Linked DNA regions of Homo sapiens: region 1 is linked to region 2. Evidence: promoter capture Hi-C in human tissues and cell types (Jung and others, 2019). All regions are on one chromosome and are shown on one strand. Each heading gives the region's core, a stretch centred on a gene start or on the middle of the fragment in contact. The rest is flanking DNA. Distances are from core to core; before and after follow the strand shown.

The links. The method cuts DNA at HindIII sites, captures the fragments that hold promoters and counts their contacts. A contact is called where the count stands out against the background at its distance.
Region 1: a contact is called between a fragment that was not itself captured here and the fragment with the promoter of SRGAP1 in region 2, in 1 of the 25 tissues and cell types used here (dorsolateral prefrontal cortex).

Annotation. Positions count from the first base shown.
Region 1 is chr12:64,377,949-64,381,277 of GRCh38, reverse strand. All of the region lies in intron 1 of C12orf56 (chromosome 12 open reading frame 56), which reads left to right. Among named protein-coding and RNA genes, the nearest start is that of C12orf56, 11 kb to the left of the region's middle. The HindIII fragment of the contact is 5,937 bases long and covers 1-3,329 here.
Region 2 is chr12:63,842,610-63,845,949 of GRCh38, reverse strand. SRGAP1 (SLIT-ROBO Rho GTPase activating protein 1) reads right to left here and starts at 1,250. Exons shown (of 22, transcript NM_020762.4): 1 at 1,067-1,250. The coding sequence starts at 1,133. RefSeq lists silencers at 1,408-1,667, 1,778-1,837, 1,898-2,317 and enhancers at 1,244-1,743, 1,744-2,245. The HindIII fragment of the contact is 18,473 bases long and covers 1-3,340 here.

The DNA.
Region 1 (3,329 bases), core at 347-2,846, 530 kb before region 2:
CTGGCACCACGCAGACAGGATAAACTGAGTTGTCTGATCTTATTGCCCCCACCCAGGAACTGACTCAGGGTAAAAGAACAGCTTTGGCTCCCTATGATTTCATCTCTGACCCAACCAATCAACACTCCTGACTCACTGCCCCCACCCAAAATTATCCTTAAAAACTCTAATCCCCGAATTCTCAGGGAGACTATTTTGAGTAATAATAAAACTCTAGTCTCCCATACAGCTGGCCCTGCATGAATTACTCTTTCTCTATTGCAATTCCCCTGTCTTGATAAATTGGCCTTGTCTAGGCAGCAGGCAACATGAACCTGTTGGGTGGTTACATTGTGGTTATCTTTGAAACATATATCATAAATTAAATTATAACATGCTTCTGATTCAAAATCTCCATGAGCCTCCAAACTCCTTATTGCTTACAAAAGCCTGCATGATTTAACCCTGCTGTCTCTTTGACTCATCTCCTACCACTCTTCCCCACGTTCTTTATGCCCTTCTATACCTCAGGACCTTTGTACTTGCCTTTCTACCTAGAACACTCGAGATCCTTAGGGGTTGGTTCTTTTGTGTAAGTCATATTTCAGCCCAAACTCAGCATCACTTCCACGAGGATGCCTCTCTGACCACTCAAACTAAAAGTACCATTCCCCCATCACACTTACCCATCTGTTTGTTTCAAAGTAGTTATCACTATTTGCATTTTATAAGATTAACTTGTTTAACAATTTGCTGTTCTCTATCTCCCATGGTAAATGTAAGCTGCTACATGGGAGTAGGACCTTGCCTCTCTTGTTCATCTCTGTGTCACTGTGCCTCACATTCCCTGACACTTAGTAGACGGTCAATAACTATTTGCTGATTAGAAGAATGAATGAGTTAATTAATTAATGCTCAGATCTATCATATAGCTTATCTCTTAGAGAAGGAGTTGATATTTCCTTATATCCAAGTGTTGAGGGATCCCAGAAATTGACAGGTTATCACACTGGCCGTTACTCAGGCAGTGGGTGGCAGAGCCTGGATAAAATCTTATAGGTCTCATGATGCTCATGTTTAGCTCTCTACACGCTTCTTTGTGCATATTGTGAGATGATCCCTGTGTTGTTTAGCTGCATTGTGCGTTTTTTTTTGTTTGTTTTGTTTTTTTTTTTTTTTTTTTTTTTTTTTTTTGCGACGGAGTCTTGCTCTGTCGCCCAGGCTGGAGTGCAGTGGCACGATCTCGGCTCACTGCAAGCTCCGCCTCCCGGGTTCACGCCATTCTCCTGCCTCAGCCTCCGGAGTAGCTGGGACTACAGGCGTCCGTCCGCCATCACGCCCGGAGACTTTTTTTTTTTTTTTTTTTTTTTTGTATTTTTAGTGGAGACGGGGTTTCACCGTGTTAGCCAGGATGGTCTGGATCTCCTGACCTTGTGATCCGCCCACCTCGGCCTCCCAAAGTGTTGGGATTACAGGCGTGAGCCACTGCGCCCGGCTTATATCGTGCGTTTTGACAGGTATTAAGAGTTACGTAAGCTGAGGCCATATTATAGATGCTTCTTTTCTTTTCCAGCTTTCTTCTTTATTTTGACTACTTTATAGCATTTTAAGGCTCTCACTGTGGGAGACAGCAGGAAGTGGTAAACTCACATCAGTCAATTTGTCTTTTTCTAAATTATTTGTTTGAATAGAATAGTATGAAAATTGCATTCAGGCTGGGCGCGGTGGCTCACACCTGTAATCCCAGCACTTTGGGAGGCCGAGGTGGGCGGATCACAAGGTCAGGAGATTGAGACCATCCTGGATAACACCGTGAAATCCCGTCTCTACTAAAAAAATACAAAAAAATAGCCGGGCATGGTGGCGGGCACCTGTGGTCCCAGCTACGCAGGAGGCTGAGGCAGGAGAATGGCGTGAACCCGAGAGGCGGAGCTTGCAGTGAGCAGAGATGCGCCACTGCACTCCAGCCTGGGAGACAGAGCGAGACTCCGTCTCAAAAAAAAAAAAAAATGAAATTGCATTCAAGTCTTAAGAAGCTTCATGAAGGCAGGCATCTTGTCAATTTGATTCACTACTATATTCCCAGTGATTGTAAGGACAGTGTATTGGTCAGATTAAGCTGCACTAACAAATAGCCCCAAAGTCTCAATGCTTCAACACAACAGAGGTTTAGGTCTGATTCAGGATTCAAGCTACTTATTTATCACAGATTAGCAAGGGGTTCTGTTCACTTTTTTTTTTTTTTTTGAGACAGGGTTTCATTCCTGTCACCCAGGCTGGAGTGCAGTGGCATAATCTTGGCTTACTGCAACCTCTGCCTCCTGGGTTCAAGTGATTCTCCTGCCTCAGCCTCCTGAGTAGCTGGGACTACAGGCACGCACCACCACACCCGGCTAATGTTTGTATTTTTAACTGAGACGGGATTTCACTATGGTGGCCAGACTGGTCTCAAACTCCTGGCCTCAAGTGATCCACCTGCCTCAGCCTCCCAAAGTGCTGGGATTACAGGCGTGAGCCACCATGCCCAGCCAGGTTCTGTTCATTTTTAAAAGTCCCAATATATGGGCTGGGTGTGGTGGCCCACGCCTGTAATCACAGCAATTTGGGAGGCCAAGGTGGGCAGATCATTTGAGGCCAGGAGTTTGAGACTAGCCTGGCCAACATGGTGAAACCCTGTCTCTACTAAAAGATACAAAAATTAGCTGGGTGTCTTGGCACATGCCTGTAGTCCCAGTTACTTGGGAGGCTGAGGCATGAGAATCTCTTGAACCTGGGAGGCAGAGGTTGCAGTGAGCTGAGATTGTGCCACTGTACTCCAGCTTGGGAGACAGTAGGACTCCATCTCAAAAAAAAAAAAAGTCCCAAGATATGGGATACTTAGTCACACATCTTAGTATAAGAGGTTTCATCTCATCCATCTCAGCACATGTTTGCTTATTCACCATGACAGGGAGAAATTAACTTAGTAAATTTATGTACCGGTTTTTAAGCTTCTACCTAGAACTGATACATGCCACTTTTCACATTTTATTAGCCAGAGTCAGGCACATTGCCATGCCTAACTTAAAAGGGGACAGGAAAATGTGATCCAACCATGTGTGCATTCCACATGTCTGGAAGAAAGGAAAACAGTAATATTTGTGAGCAGTACTTAATGACCATCTCAAATAGTTGACATTTATTGAGTGCTTACTGTATGCCAGTTAGATGCTGTTCTAAGTGCTTAGCTTGGAACTTCATCCTCATAACAACTCAGATAATATTCTTAGCTCAGTTTTACAGACAAGAAACCTGAATTACAGAGAATTTAAGCAATTTGCCCAAGGTTGTCCATTAAGTGGCAGAACCAG
Region 2 (3,340 bases), core at 1-2,500:
CTGCTCCTCCCTTGCTCAAGGGAAGTACAGTAATGCCTCTCTCCGTAGCCCTTTCATAAGACTGTGCATAGATAAACACAGGTGTATACATAGCAATCTTTATGAACTTTGCATTGAATGTGTCAAAGAACAGTGGCGGTCCCAACATTCCATCCATTGTCTCAATCAGGAAAGCTACTCCTGAGACCTCAGGAAAGAGGAGGAAAAAATTCAAGTAACACATATGTTTACGAAACACTTCAGTAACAAAACAAAATACTTGTATTGGAGAGAAAATATATATATTTTTAATCACAAGGCATAGAAAGTAAAAATAATCAGCCTTAATTAGGTTTCCTTCATTAGTTGACAATGTAAATGGACTGAAACTACTACTCAAATATTCAAACCTTCATTTTACATGCAAGTGGCTTCCAGAAAATGATAAAGCAATATTCCCATGTGAGTGTGAAAGATGGCAATGAATTCTGGCCCATTATAAAGGAAGAGTCAGATTCCACTAGTCACTGCTTCGTTTAACTGCCAGGCTTTTAGGGAGCTATTTAATAAAAGGGGTCTCGCCCTAATAAATTGTGAGCGGTGTAAATAGGTGAGTGGTGTAAATATCTGAAATAGCCTGCACTCAATGAGGCTGTAGACCGCTTGGGGTTCACAGACTTTACAAAAATCATTCCGTAAAAAAATTACGTAGTGACAATCCTACCATTTAAAAAGAATAATGATGGTGATAATAATAGCTGGACAGGATCCTCCACTGCTGCCTGCTTCCCACATAAGTTGCCCAGCTGAAGGTGGTTAAGTTAAAGCCAGTTCTCTCCCCATTAGAGATGCGGGCTGGCAGCTGGCGGGGGAAGTCACCCAGTTTCCAGCTCCCCGTGGGTTTGACGGGACTGGGATTGCAACTGGGAACTAACTGGCTTGTAGGAAGCCCAGGTGGCTCAGACAGGGCTCGAGCTGTCCCCTCACCACCTTCCTCCCACGCAGACACCAAGTTAGATACGCAACTCCACGAGCACAATGACAAGAAGGCACACAAAAGGAGCAAGGCAGCCGCTCCCATCCTTACCTTTGACTTGACTTTCATACTCGGCTATGATCTCTTTGTCCTTCTTGAATCGGCTCGGGGTGGACATTATCCAGCTGTTCCGGGTTTGCTTTCAATGGGCAAGTTTTGTTCAGTGGTCACAACCCGTTCTCCTTGGAGAGGCAGAGTTGTACTCCCACACGCAGGCAATCCAGAGGCAGCGCCGACCCGAGGGAAGGGAGGAGGGAGAGGAGAAGTAGGAGGAGGAGGGGAAAAAGAGCGAGTAGAGAGGACTAGATTAGCCCGGGCGCTGGCACCATACTCTCGAAATTGAGCTCCGTCGGTAATCCCAGGGGATCCCCGGGGGAGAGGCCGGACGCGCAGGCAAACTCCAGCCAGCGAGTGGCGGGGGACGTCTCCCTGCCCACCTCGCCGGGAGCCCGGCCACTTCCTCTACGGCCGCTGGGCGGGCGCGGGGCTCGCGCCGGCGCTCCGCACCATTGTTCGAGACCCGCACCGGGCGCCCGGGACAGGGCCAGCGGCGGAGGGCAGGCGCTGGGAACGCGCCCAGCTCGGGCGCCACAACCCTCCCTTCCTGCCTCCAGCTGTCGGCTCCGGCGCTCAAGGGTCCCGCCCGGGCTGGGGATGCTGCTGCCACGGCCGCCGCTCCTCTGCCCGCAGACACTGCCGCTACAGCTCGGCAGGCGAAAGGAATCGCAGTCCTGACGCGAGTCCCCGCTGCTGCTGAGAGGGTGAAGGCGGCGACGCTCAGACGCGCCCTGGGCACAGCCCCGGCGGAGTTTAGGTCTCCAGAGCCGGCGCCGCGAGGGGCCTCTGCCTCCCTGGCCGCGGTGCGCCGAGGCTGCCTTTCTCTGCGTCCCCCTTTCCGCTGCTGCCCCCAGGAGGCCGCTAGTGACAGGCACACTCGCACACGCACGCGGGAGCCGCGCCCCCGGCGGCAGCAAAGTTGAGGGTGCGCACACGGCTCGCGCCTCGCGGGCGCCCGGCTAGCGATCTGCGGGCGGTGGCTCCTCGGGGCTCCGCCAGGCGGGGCCAGGCTCGCGGGAGCGGACCGCGCTCCGGCCTGTGCCCTTCTCCGTCCAAGCTCCCGCCCCTGCTCCGCTAGGAAACGCCTGGCTGGTCCGGGAAGATGGATGCCTCTTGTGGCCAACCGCAGCCCGGCCCCGCGCGCCGAGCCCAGGAGGCCGTGGGCGGCGCCCCCGGCACCTCCCTCCGCCGAGGCCCCGCACCTCCCTCCGCCGAAGCCCCGCTCCACCGCTAGCCGAGGTCGCGGCTCCGGCGGCAGGAAAACCCCTTCCTGACCTGAGGGACCGCCTTCTGGCTCTGGCGGGGGCTCTGGTGGGGCTTTTGCCAGAATCTAATGGGGAAGTCCAGAGTTGGATGTATCCATGACACAAAGGGATGTTACTCCGAGACGCTGGACCCCAATAGAAAAACTGAACACTGAATTGTGAATGACCTGGCTGTTAATCCAAAGAGCGCGAAGCTCTTCAATCGAGGCGGAGAAAAACACCCACCTTGAACACCATATCCTCTATTCCTACAGTAGATAGGGAAGCTAGGATGGTAGGAAAGCGATGGTATGGAAACACGTCACACTTAACGGCGTTGTTAGCTTATTTATTTACTAAACTCCAGATTTTATTCCAATTTTACCAATTTTTTCGACTAGTGTCATTTTTTCTGTTCCAAGATCCAACACAGGACACTACATTGCACTTAGTACTTTTACGGTTGTTTTTGTTTTTGTTTTTTGATTTTGTTTTTTGGGGGTTTTTTTTGAGACGGGGTCTCACTCTCGCCCAGGCTGGAGTGCAGGGGCACGAGCTCCGCTCACTGCAACCTCCGCCTCCCGGGTTCAAGTGATTCTCCTGGCTCAGCCTCCAGAGTAGGTGTGACTACAGGCGCCCGCCACCGTGCCTGGGTAATTTTTGTATCTTTAGTAGAAACAGGGTTTTGCCATGTTGGTCAGGCTGGTCTTGAACTCCTGACCTCAAGTGATCCGCTCACCTCGGCCTCCCAAAGTGGTAGGATTACAGGTGTGAGCCACGGCGCCCGGCCACGTTTTTAATAGATACCTTTTACAAGATCTATCGTGTCTAGTCTCTTTTTATTTTATTTGTTTGTTTGTTTTCATTTTAGTACAGACGGGGGTCTCCCTATGTTGTCCAGGCTGGTCTCAAACTCTAGTCTCTTTTTGAACAATATAACGAAGAATTTACCTTGCCATCTTTGCATGGTTCAGGTGTTGTGTTAAGTACTTTAAATCCATCCTTGCCAGCCTTTTAAATTTTT